2 separate regions of the Homo sapiens genome follow, and region 2 is linked to region 1. The links are contacts of gene promoters, found by promoter capture Hi-C in blood cells and fetal thymus (Javierre and others, 2016). All regions are on one chromosome and are shown on one strand. Each heading gives the region's core, a stretch centred on a gene start or on the middle of the fragment in contact. The rest is flanking DNA. Distances are from core to core; before and after follow the strand shown.

Region 1 (6,540 bases), core at 4,041-6,540:
CATAGCTCACTGCAATTTAATTCCCTGTTAATTGTCTCTAATTTCCTGTGCTTCTTGAAAGTAAAATCCATTTTCACCCTTGTAGAATCCCTTGTGCTTAGCACAGTACCTGGCACTTAGTTGGTACTCATTCCACAAATATTTGAGCAATTTTTTTTTAAGACTGGGTCTTGCTCCGTCACCCAGGCTAGAGTGCATAGATCAGAGTAGTGTGATCATAGATCACTGCAGTCTCAAACTCCTGTGCTCAAGCAATCCTCCTGTCTCAGCCTCCCAAGTAGCTAGGACTATGTGCACACGTCACCACACCTGGATAATTTTTAAATTTTTTGTAGAGATGGGGGTCATGCTATGTTGCCCCGGCTGGTCTCAAACTCCTGGCCTTTGTTATTTTTATTACTGAAATTTGGGATATACTCAAAGTATGAAAGTTGGGAACTTCTATACTTTTGTTACTGGAAGTTGGGAAGGACATCACAAGCAGTCACTCTTCAGCACCAAATGCCCTGACGATGAATGAAGTTTTTAAATGATGATAAATAACTGATCTGCTGAAGACTAGTACCTTTAAGTTAGAATGAAAGTCACATTTGTATACACATTCTCCTGTTCTATCCTGATAACCTGTAGACTATTAAGAGGAGTAGCTGGATTAGGAGTGTATTATGAGGGATTTTGCAATGTGAAGAGAAGGAGGTTAACCAACATCAACCTTTGAGCTGGGCTAGAGATGACGTATTATTTCATAATGCTTAGAAACGTGCACAAACATACATTTGAATACAATTTCAGAAAGTTCATGCATCTTGAAACTCTAGGCTCTCCACAGTACCCTCTGTGGACCTAATCTAAGAACCCATATTTTAGAAGAAAAAAAAAATGTGAAAAAAGATATGATGGGCAGGGCGCGGTGGCTCACGCCTGTAATCCCAGCACTTTGGGAGGCCGAGGCGGGCGGATCATAAGGTCAAGAGATCGAGACCATCCTGGCCAACATGGTGAAACCCTGTCACTACTAAAAATACAAAAATTAGCTGGGTGTGGTGGCGCGTACCTGTAGTCCCAGCTACTCGGGAGGCTGAGGCAGGAGAATCACTTGAACCCAGAAGGCAGAGATTGCAGTGAGCTGAGATCACGCCACTGCACTCAGGCCTGGTGACAGAGCAAGACTCCATCTCAAAAAACAAAACAAAACAAAAAGAAATATATGGGTGCATGAGAGAGCAGCCTACTAGACATAGAAATTTCAAAGCTCATGGGTATCTATATTTTTACAGGGTTAATAAAAGAGCAAAATTGGTTAGTAGTAATCTGATTTTTAAAAAATTTTGGAGGTTAAAGTGGTCTGCTTTGATATAAAACACTTTGGCATCTAATAACTCTAAGATGTATGCTATTGGGAGCCACTGAAGGTTTTTAATAAGGCAAATAACATAATCAGATATATCTTTTAAGATCGCTTTTCTAGAAACATTGCTAGATTAGAAGAGAAATTAGAGGCAGAAAGAACAATGAAAAGATTATTGTACTACCCATCTCTTGCCTGAACTAGAAACACACACAAAAATTGATTTAAGTGATATTCAGAAGTAGAATGAATTATTCTTCCTAAAAATTTGAATTTGGGACAAGGGGCAAGAACAGTTAAAGATGCCCTTGATGTTTCCAGCTCCAGTAACTGGGTGATAACAAGATCTAAAAGGCACACACAAGGTGCTCAGTACCTGGAGAATAAATAAATAAATCAGACAAAAATTTTGCTTCTCACATTAGATGTTTAACGGAAGTTTAATTTAACTCCTCCCACCAAGCCAGGCGACAACAACAAAGTTACAAACACAATATCCTCACAAAGTCAACTAGGTCATTAGAAGAGATAATGAATTCAGGCCCGGCGTGGTGCCTCACGCCTGTAATCCCAGCACTTTCGGAGGCCGAGGCGGGCGGATCACAAGGTCAAGAGATTGAGACCATCCTGGCCAACATGGTGAAACCCCGTCTCTACTAAAAATACAAAAATTAGCCGGGCGTGGTGGCGTACGCCTGTACTCCCAACTACTCGGGAGGCTGAGGCAGGAGAATCACTTGAACCCAAGAGGCAGAGGTTGCAGTGAGCCGAGATTGTGCCACTGTATGTACTCCAGCCTGGTGACAGAGTGAGACTCCGTCTCAAAAAAAAAAGAATAGAAAAGATAATGAATTCAGTTTCAAGATGTCCAGTAAGCAGTTAAAAATATAACACTGCAGAACACGAGTGATGGAGATCCCATTAGTGGTTGCCAAGGGAATGGATGTGATTATCCAGAGAGAACATATAGAGCAGCAAGACAACTGAGGATACAGTCTTAGAGAATGCTGATATTTAAAGGGCAGATGAAAGAAGAGAAGCCAGCTGAGATTAAAACAGGCTGAAATGGATGCAGGACAAGGAAAAGCAAAAGTAGGAATGATGTGATTTGGCTAAAGCAAAGGATCTAGACTCTTAAGATAAATCAGACTAAGAGGTTAGGAATCAATTTTGTGGCCAAAGATCTTCAAACATCGGAGGTCTAGAAGGCTCATACTCCAATTCTCCCCATTTGCCCCCAACCCCAGGTGCTGGCGTTCATAGCAGGGTACAGTTTGAAAATCTGTACCCCACAGATTTGGGGGTACAAATAGTCATGGAGAGTTTCTGAATGGGAATTAACATGAATAGAGGTGGCATTAGGAAGACTAATCAGAAAACCACGTATAGGATTAATTGATAAAAAACTAGATTTTGCAAGCAACTAAGGAACCAATTTCAAAGATGGAAATGAGGACTTGAATTAAGATGTGGCAGTTAGCATGAAAAAAGCAGCTTCAACAAGACTTCACCAGCCTGAGGTGTTGGCCAGGCTTTTTGGTAGGAATTGAGACTCTTTTGGGAGTTTTTTGGGGGACACAGGGTCAGTGACACTGAGGCACTGGTCTAATGAAGGATTAACTTGGCAATGGTAATTAGGATTGAATGGCAGGTAAGATAGGAGATAGAGAAACAACAAAATTATTATAGCCGCACAGGTGTAAAGTGATGAGAATTTGAAATAAAGTTTAGCAGTAGGCATTCCTTAGTGACATTCTGCTGTTTTTTCCAGAATGGTACTTCCAGTTTCCGACTGACTCAATTTCTGGTCACCCAGTTGGAAGACATGCCTGGGCATGTCAGGACAACAATTTAGGTCAAGATTTCCCAGCAAGCACTTACGATGCCCCAATCTAGGCTGGCATCATACCAGGCTCTTACCTCCTATCCAGCCCCAATTCCACCACTTCCGTTTCTTTGCCTTTATGTCTCTTCTACTTCTGTAAAATAGCTGTATGTTGTCATAGTCATACACTACTTGTAAGTATTATTTTCACTTCTATTCCCACAAAGTCTGACGGAACCAATGGGATACCCGCCCAGGTGCAAGAACTTGGTTTTAAATTTAGCTCCTCTACTGAGTCCTGGGCATGCCATTTAATGTTTTCTGGCCTAAACTTTACCTTGACAATAGACTATGAATTAGATTAGCAATAGTTAACTCTGAGAAATTGACAATAACTATGGACCCCTTTCTCAGAAGATTCACATCTGCACATACAAAATCTACATATCACTTCAGGAGATTTATAAAGCCCCTTCTAGTCTATCTATGGACCCTTTAAGACAGTGGGGGGTTTTTTGTTTTTGTTTTAATATGTGTACCAGGATCACCTGAAGTACTTGTTAAAAATGCAGATCTCAAGAGATTTTGATTCACTATGTTTGGGGTGTTGGTCCAGCAATTTACATTTTTTACAAAATACTCCAAGTGACTCTGATGCAGGTCTCCTATTATGCACTCTGGCATCTAGAAAAACAAAGTGCTTCAGGCAACCCAGCATCTCAAGTTAAAAACTTTTGGACCACTAAAATTCATTCTGAATCTAAAATTCTGTCTGTCCTTGCGGGTCTGTATCATTGAGATAGGAGTAATAAATAAAATGTAATATCCAGGTGTTAAGCCTGAATCACTGCTGGTGCCATTAGCATAAACAGCAGTCTGAATTTTCCCCTTTGAGTAGGGAAGTTGGTACTAAACGCATTTGTTTCAAAACAGGAAGAAAAAGCTTGAGGGATATTTACAGTTAGTTACTAAATGCTTACAAAAATCAAGTTAAATAAAATAAAATCTCAAACCTGGAATCTACAACTTTCTAAAGAAATGTAGGGCCAAGCATGAATCTCTTGGGGTGGAAACGTTTGTTTCCCCCAAATCTTCACAGTATTAAATCAAAGATACCACAGCAACAGGTTCCAGTAGTACAAAAAGCATTTCTCTTGTCCACAAAGGGCTTAGAAGTATTTGCAAAATGACAGTGTTTGAAAATTATACAGCAACAGTTTAAACTACCATACAATCCTACAGTCTAACAAATTCTGGTTTATTTATTTTAGGTACTTTTATCAGCATAAACAACTTGGATGAACAACTTGGGCTTATTAAGCACCTACAATTTTCGTGGCACTTTGCATAAAGCATTTTACTTAATTCTCTCTGAAGTATCACTTCCATTGTATAAAGGAAGAAAGTGACACCCCGAAGATTCAGTTAGTTAAGGAGCCGGGCCTGAGCAAAACTGGCCTCCTACCCTGATTTTTTCACTGGGAGGAGGTCATGAGGATTTCGTGTCCCCTTCTACCTGTCATCTTCACCCCAGCCACCTGTGTCAATTTCCACACGCGTTCTCCAACTCCTTGTCACCATCCCAAATGGTATGCACCTCTCCAGCAGAGCCGCCACAGTCCTCTTTCCTTGCCTCGGTTTCCCTGGCCAGGGCTCCAAAACAGGGAAGGAGGGTGGGAGAGCGTGAGGCGGATAAACGCAGGGGTAAGTCTCACCCCGGCCTGAGGCCTCCAAGCGTCGTCCTTGGCTGGCCCCGGGGCAGAGCAGCGAGCGGGACGCAAACCCAAAGTCAGCTCCTTCCTCCGCCCTCCCCGGGGACGGCCTCCCCGGCGCTCGCAACGACGAAGCCAGGCTGCGGCGAGGGCGGGCGGACAGGCCTGTCCTGACCGCGGCGAATAACATTTCCTACAGCGGTCCTGCAACTTGCAATCTAACGGGCTGGCGTGACTGCGGTGAGGGGGAAGACGCAACAGCAACATTTACCTCATCCTGATCCAGCCCGGCCGCTTCCGGCCTTTCCGGGTCGCCCATCGCGCAGACTCCGCCGAAGCTACGGGCGCTGAGGGAACTGAGCTCCTCAGGCCACCTCCAACTACGACAGCACCCAGGTGGTCCGCTGGTCCGCTGGGTCCGCCCCGCCCCCAGCTCTAGGGACTCGGCCGGCCCCGCCCCGCCGCGCCGGTCCTGCTTTCTCGCCTGTCCATTGAGTGACTCTCCCTGCGCCGGCCCGGCCCCGCCTCCCCCGCCTCGGGGCTCCGCCTAACTTCGGCCAGCCCCGCCTCCCCGCCTGCGGCCTAAGGGTTTCTCCCCGCCTCGGCCGACCCGCCTCCCCTACTGCGGCCTAAGGGATCCTCCCCGCCTCGGCCTGCCCTGCCTCCCAGCCTGTGGCCTAAGGGATTATCCCTGTCTCGGCAAGCCCCGCCTGCCTTGGGGCACCGCCTACCTCTGCCAGCCACGCCTCCCCTGCCTCGGGGCTCCGCCTACCCCGGCCAGCCCCATTTCCCCGCCTGCGGCCTAAGGAAATCTCCCTGCTTCCGCTGGCCCCGCCTTACTCTGTTGCACCGCCCAGTCGCCCGGCTTTCCACTGAGGGACGCCCCCTGCTCTGGACTGCTTAGCCTACTCCAGCTGGCCCCACCTCACCTCATCGGCCCCGCCTCCTCCGCTCGCCCACTCCGGGCGCCCACTCCTGAGGAGCTATCCCAGAGTCCGCGCGGCCTCGCCTTCCCGGCCCGCTCACCACCCCGCCTCGTCCCACCTCGCCTCGCCCTCCCCGGGCTCTAGCCACTTGGTGCGGCAGGTGTCCTGCAGGCCGGCTCGAGATTCCCGAGCTCGCCCTCGTGGTGTTCCAGGAACACGGTACTTTGCGCTAGCCTGGCCTGTCCTGAGAGACTGCGGGAGGCGAAGAGAACGCGCTGTTGCTGTGGGAAGCGCCGGGGACGGGACAGCTACACCGCCAAACACTTCGCTAGGGAAAGGGCTGGCTGGTTTCGTGCGTAAACAACCGAAAAGGGGAAGTGTCTGGGGGAAAGTGTGTGTGTGTGTGTGTGAATGCGGGTGAGTGAGGGGGAGAGGGACACGTTACTAAAGTCAGGCAAATATTTTGAAAAAAATATATTTTGAAAAAAATAGTTTGGTCTAACAAAAATAAAATGGAAGAGAGATTTGTTTAAGTAGTTTGAAGCTGAAAGATTGACGGGATCTTGCCATGACCTGAACAGCATGCACCTGTTTTGTGGCTGGCTGAAGGATGGTAAATAGGATCAAGATCTCACTTTAAGCGTTGAAAATGCTGAAAGCCCTTTCTCAAACCTGCCATAGCGTAGGGGTAGACAGTCTTTCTTAAAGCAACTACTAGGGGTCAAATGC
Region 2 (6,540 bases), core at 1,859-4,358, 920 kb before region 1:
AAGTGATTTAGAATGAAGTACCTTCTCTGATGCCAAGACACTTAACAAGAGCATGATGTGATTGGCAGATGGCTAGTTATTCCTCAATCTCCCTTCTCTCATTCTTCATAATAGTGGAGTTTTCTCAGTCCCTTTGGACATCTGTGGCAGATAGTGAGAGAAGGATGAGACCTTGAGAGACCAGGAGAAAAGAGCAAGGATAGGGCATGGGAGTAGGAGTGGGGACAGTTGCCAGGAGTAGAGAGGAAGGAATCTTTGCAGCAACATGTGACCTACACTTCAGGTCTGCAGGGCCTGCCCTTTAGACCCACTCCATAAATGTTGATTTCAGTTTCTTTTACAATTCCAGATTTTATGCTTATGAAAAGTCATATGGCAAGGTTGCTTGCTCAAATACTCACGAGAATGACCCATAGACCGAATTTGTTCCAGCTGCAGCCCAGCTGGTGTTTATGACAGACTTGTTAGCAGCTTTGAAATAGAGAAATAGAAGTTGCAAAAAAATTCCAGTTCCATCCTCTCCATTTAATCTTCTCCATGTTGGAAAAAAAAGATAAGCTGCTCCCAATATTTAAAAGCTTTCTATAAAATAAATTGCAAGTAGCTACAAAATTCTGGTATCTGCATTTTCTGACTGCAGATCTTCTCATTCAACCCTAAGTCTCTTTAGTTTTTAATATATGTCATTCTTTATCTCTTCTAAAATAAATGAAAGGACAGTTGGATCTTTGGAGGCAGCTGTTGCTCCTCCAAGTTAAGGAATCTCTGTTCCAGAAATTTCTCCTTCCCTGCCTACATTGATTTCCCAACAAACAAGCTTTGACCAAGCTTGCCAAGCAAGCTTTCTTTTCCCCTTCCAACCTTGCTGTCAGGACAACATTCCTGCCACACTCCTCCCCAAGCTCAGACACTAGACCATGTACTCCCTCCTTCTATCATCACTTGAATTTCAGGAAGCAAATCCTTTGACTCAACCAGAAGAGGATTACTTAGTGCTTTCTTCATTCTTCATTTTAATTTTCATCTAAATGCATCAACACTCTACCATCTGAGGCTTTGATTTTCTTTTAACTACAATTCAAGTGTTTTTAAGATTTAAAGACTCATCTTTCTGTCTCCTGTTTTTATTTTGCCATTTGGATTAGTCAGACAAAGTCCTTTCTTTGCAAGGAAATTGTCTTTGCAAGTTGGGGTTTATTCATCTCCTAAAAATATTCTTGGGGCATGTATAAAGCTAGAAATGCATGTGTAATATGCCAAGCATGTAAGTACAAAGACAGAATTTTTGCACATAATTTCAGCCATTCAGTTATTTCCAGGTTCATAGTCTCTTGTAATATGTAAGCTTTCACTGGCCACACTATGGAAAACTTCCATTTCTTTCAATGGTTGAGATATGAGATTCTTTGTGAATTGTTTCTTCTGGCTAGATGAAAATTACTAAAATGGCATTAGTAATCACTATATTAGTCTGTTTTCTGTTGCTTATAAGAGAATACCTGAAACTGGGTAATTTATAAAGAAAAAAATTTATTTCTTACACTTACAGAGGCTGAGAAGTCCAAGGTCGAGGGCCTGCATCTGGTGATGGCCTTCTTACTGGTGGGGACTCTGAAGCATCCTGAGGTAGGCAGGGCATCACATGGTAAGTGGGCTGAGTGCGTTTGTGTACTAGCCCAGGCTCTCTTCCTCTTCTTATAAAGCCATCCATTCCACTCCCATGATAATTCATTAATCCATTAACCCTTTAATCAATTAATCCATGATGGATTTATCCATTCACTGGGGCAGAGCCCTCATGATCCAATCACCTCTCAATCCTGAAACATTTGTGTTCAAGTTTCAACATGAGTTTTGGAGGGGACAAATATTCCAATCATATAACAATGGCCCGTGTCCAAGTAAGCCCACAGCAGTGTGTACTTAACCTTAGAACCACCCAGAACATTCTTGAATCTTTCTCTCATGGTTCAGGAGGTCTTCTCGGTCTCTCAGTTTGTTACTTAGGGCATCACTAGACTATTGATTATCCATAGTGGCAGGAATATGTCAATTATTTGAGCTTCCCAGAAAGAATTTGACATTCTGAACAATTAGAAGTACACTTGAAAACATATCAATAAATATGTTGACATATAAATGGCCACATTTTCGAGCAGGCTAAATGTTAACAGATAAGAAATGATTTGGCCATAAAATAGATAAGCAGATACAGATGCTGAGATTCAGTTGCTTTATTTTTTTTTCAGGTTGGAGCAGAAGGAACAGCCAGGGAAATGCATCCATTTAACCTTCCAGACTCTGGAGTCCACCTTCTTTGTTTTAAGTAAATTTTAGATGCAGAGGCCATGAACTCAGCTTATAATCAGCCTTATTGCTCATTCACTTATTCCATATTCAAGATATTTAATGCTCATATTGCTCTGACAACATGCCAAGGATCTTCAGCTGACACCTCCCTGCATACTCTACTGGGTGATATCTCTTCTGATTTGTTTTTGTGACTGTTCTGATTAGTTGGACTCATGCTATACAGGTTATTCAATATTTTGAATAACATCCTTGACTTATAAAATTGTAATGGGATAATAGTTTATAGTATCAACCAAGGTTTGTTTGTTTGTTTTCTTTTTCCCTCAAGAATCTCATTATATTCCTGATACTTCCTCAATCAATGTGTAAGAGCATTCCAGCCTATGGTATTAGTCAGGATAGGCCAGACTGTGCTGCAATAATAAACAGCTGCAAAAATCTCAATGGTTAAACACACAATAGTTTATTTCTCATTCATGCTACATGTTCATTGTGGGTCAGTGAAGGACTTTGCGCCATATAGTCACTCAGGACTCAGGCTAAAGCAGGTGCCGTCACCTTGTAGCTGTATCATTTGAGTGCATGTCCTCCTTGATAGGCACAGCAGAAGAAAGCACATAAAATTGTACATGGATGTAGGTATGTGGCAGTCATTATTTTCACCCATATTTCATGGCCAGAACTGGTCAAGTGGCCCTGCCTAACTGCAAGTGCTGGGCAATGTAAGAGACCAAATGGAAGTTTTGCCTCATGGGAAAAAAGACTCAGCAAATGTGCTGAGAAAAGAAAAAAGTGTCAACTGAGTTTTAAAATAAACTATCAAAACATTTGGTAATGAGCATATCTTGGAGACAAAAAAATATGAAATTACAAGTACCAGGCTTTGAGCCTCAGAAACCATACCTAAAGAACTCAAGAGCAAAACATATATATTTATAAATATAAACAAGAGATAAAATACGTGAAGAGTTCTAATGATTGCTGGAAAAGAGAGATAAGTCCGAGAGAAGAGTAATGGGGTTAGAAACTCGTATACAACTCTGCAAAGGGTCCTCCTGGGTTGAGACCCAGGGTCAGGGTATGCATGTTAAAAATCCTGAGTAGGTTTGGTAATATTCAGGAGCAGGAGCAGAGCAGACCTGGACCTCTCTTCCCAGGAGAGTCTTGTGGATAAGTCTCTTATGAGAGTATGGGTATGACAAGCTAGAAATGGCAGCCTATGTGTCCAGGAGGAAATGGTCTGAGATAGGCTATATTAGTCCATTCTCACACTGCTATAAAGAATACCTGAGACTGGGTAATTTATGAAGGAAGGAGGTTTAATTGACTCACAGTTCCACATGGCTGGGGAGGCCTCAGGAAACTTACAATCATGGTGGAAGGTGAAGGGGAAGTAAGTGCCTTCTTCACAAGATGGCAGGAGAGAGAGAGTGCAAGGAAAACTGCCACTTTTAAACCATCAGATCGCGTGAGAACTCCCTCACTATCACAAGAACAGCATGGGGGAAACCACCCCCATGATCCAATCAGCTCCCACCGGGTCTCTCCCTCAACACGTGGGGATCACAATTGGAGATGAGATTTGGGTGGGGACACAGAGCCAAACCATATCATAGGCCTTTGCATTTCTCATTTCCTAAGAGAGCACAAACAAACATCCAAAAGTTTCTGGGATTCCCCAAGGAAGTGTCAGATGCCCAAGGGAGAGGGCTAGAGAACCTGAGAGGGCCTTGTGCTTAGGATAAGGGGGATGCAGGGTGTGGGAAAAGACAGATGACCAGGGAGCAGATGGAAAACTCAGATGCCACAGAGACACCAGCAGGGAAGACTAATGACTGGACCTGCAGGGCCATGAGGATCTTGAGGACAGATGACTAAGAACCAGATCTGCCCTCCTCTCAGATTCTTGGACACTCTTGACATCCTTGCTTTAATGTGCAGCCTCTTAACCTGTGATCAAACTCTCCTCCATCCCTGACCCCTATGTGCCTCAGTCCCAGGACTGGGTCCTGGTCTCAGTTCTTGCCCACATGCAGGACTCACTGGCATTTGTTGATGTATCAGACACACCTGGACTGCTTCAGACTCTCTCAACCTCATCTATCTTCGGGACCCTTGGGGACTAGAGCCCAGAGTCTCTGGGTCCATACATCACTTTTGGCCTCAGATGAAGTGCCACACCAAAGGGGGTGGAGTCTGGCTTCCTTGGTGACTACGTGATGAATCCCCAAAGTAGAAGGGAGGTAACTCTGAATCCCCAAAGTAGAAGGGAGGTAACTCCTCTTGGGGCACACTTTGACCAAGGCGAAGCATGTTACAGTGTAAACGGATGGACTAAATACTTCTGTATTCCTCTCAGTGAGGGACTGTTCTGAAGGGTAATGTTCTTCTACAGCTTACCTGGAGATGTCTCCCATGGCCAGGTGGCTGGCTGTATCTGTGAAGCAGTGGGCCTCTCAGTAGCACTACTCTATATTGGCTTCTTACTCTTCCCTGCCTTTCTTTCCTTTCCCCTCATTTTCCCAGCCCTAGGGTTTTCTTGCAATAAAGCATTGCACTTAAGCTTTGTCTCAGCCTGTTTTCTAGGGAAGGTAGGCTAAGACATTTGAAGATGTCCCATGTGTCGGGAAGTGTATGAGGTAATTTCACATATGTGATTCCATTTCACCTTTACAACAACCTTGGGCAGGGAGGGCATGACTTGACAAGGTCACCCATGAGCAAAGAGTGGAACTCAAATATTTTTCATTGAAAAAGCAGTTACTGACCATGTTCTAGGCATCGGGAATACTGTGGTGAACCATTCAGACACAGCTGCTACTCTTGTGAAACTTATGGTCTGCTGGAGGAGGGCACATAATAACAAGTAAACAAATCCATAAACAAGATAATTGCATAATGTGCCAAGTTCTAGGGAGACAAATAAGGCTATGTGATAGAGTGTGACTGGGAGAGGGGACACTTTTTTTCCATGTAGTATTGAGGGAAGGCCTCTCTGAGGATGTGACACAAGGGCTGAGGCCTAAATGATCAGGCAGCCATGGAAAGTTTTGGAGGAAATGTTTTCCAGGCAGAGAAAACAGCAAGTACAAACACCTTTAGGCAGGAACGAGCTTGGAGAGTTTGGGAAGGAAGACCAGTGATTTTTTTCATCATACTATGCTTGGCCTAGGGTCTGGCTTTGAACATTCCAGGCATGGCAGTGACAGTGATACTTGTATTCGTTATCTATTGCTGCATGACAAGGTATCCCAAAACTGAGTGGCTGAAAAAAGCAACAATCATTTTTTTCATGGTTTCTGTGGGTGAGGAACTTAGGAGCAGCTTAACTGGTCAGTTCTTGTGTAGGTTCTCTCATGAGGCTGCAGTCAGGATATAGGCTATGGCTATATCATCCGAAGACTTGACTGGGGCCAAAAAATTTGTTTCTAAGATGACTCAGTCACATGGTTGGTTAGTGTTAGCTGTTGGTGAACAGCCCCAGTTCCTCCCTAACTGGGCCCCTCCAGAGGACTCTAGTTTCCTCTTGACACGCGACTGGCTTTCCCCAGAGTAAGTGATCCAAGAGAGTAGGGCAGACACCACATTGTCTTTGATGGTCTATCTTTGGAAGCCATATACCATCATTTCTGTATTGTTCTTTTAGCCACGCAGACCTGCCCTGAAACAGTGTAGGAGGATACTACCCAAGATTGTAAACACCAGATGACAAGGATTGGGGCCATATTGAAGACTGCTTACCACAGTGCCCAAATGCTGTAACAATATCTAGTTTGATGTGCTCTCTTCCCTCTCTTGGTTTGCCTTCATTCACAAACTATCCCTATATAGGAAGATGGATCTCAAAAGCTCCAGGCTTCTACATTTCAAGTCTAAAATAAAGGGCCTTATTTTTCCCAATATCTCCAAGAAAATCCCTGGAATTGAATCCCATTGACTTTGAGTACATGCTATCATTTCTGCATTATTCTGTTGGCCACACAGATCAACTCTGAAACAGTGAAGGATACTGCCCAAGATCGTTGGGTGTGAAGATTGTTCATCAAGATAATTGGCTTGATCCATTTCTTGCTCAATGTCTATGACTGGGGGGAAGGGTGGGGTCAACCCCACCAAAGTCACATGGACTGAGAGTCGAGGAGATGCAGTGTCCTCAAAGGAAAACTAGGGTTTTATTATGAGAAGAAAGTAGAATGGATAGCGGGTGGGTGGAAATAGCAGGTGTGT

The links. Contacts are between HindIII fragments. The CHiCAGO score rates a contact against its expected background, and 5 or more counts as called.
Region 2: a contact is called between a fragment that was not itself captured here and the fragment with the promoter of RRM2B in region 1, in 1 of 17 cell types (M2 macrophages). The highest score is 5.6, in M2 macrophages.

The regions. Positions count from the first base shown.
Region 1 is chr8:102,233,671-102,240,210 of GRCh38, forward strand. It overlaps RRM2B (ribonucleotide reductase regulatory TP53 inducible subunit M2B), which reads right to left and starts at 5,291. Exons shown (of 9, transcript NM_015713.5): 1 at 5,157-5,291. The coding sequence starts at 5,204. It overlaps UBR5-DT (UBR5 divergent transcript), which reads left to right and starts at 5,781. Exons shown (of 3, transcript NR_125415.1): 1 at 5,781-6,030. RefSeq lists enhancers at 2,612-3,811, 5,115-5,214 and a silencer at 5,285-5,714. The HindIII fragment of the contact is 7,159 bases long and covers 4,115-6,540 here.
Region 2 is chr8:101,318,506-101,325,045 of GRCh38, forward strand. LOC124901993 reads left to right here. Exons shown (of 6, transcript XM_047422526.1): 5 at 1,550-1,645; 6 at 2,250-2,757. The coding sequence ends at 2,290. Among named protein-coding and RNA genes, the nearest start is that of LINC02844, 59 kb to the left of the region's middle. The HindIII fragment of the contact is 3,531 bases long and covers 1,344-4,874 here.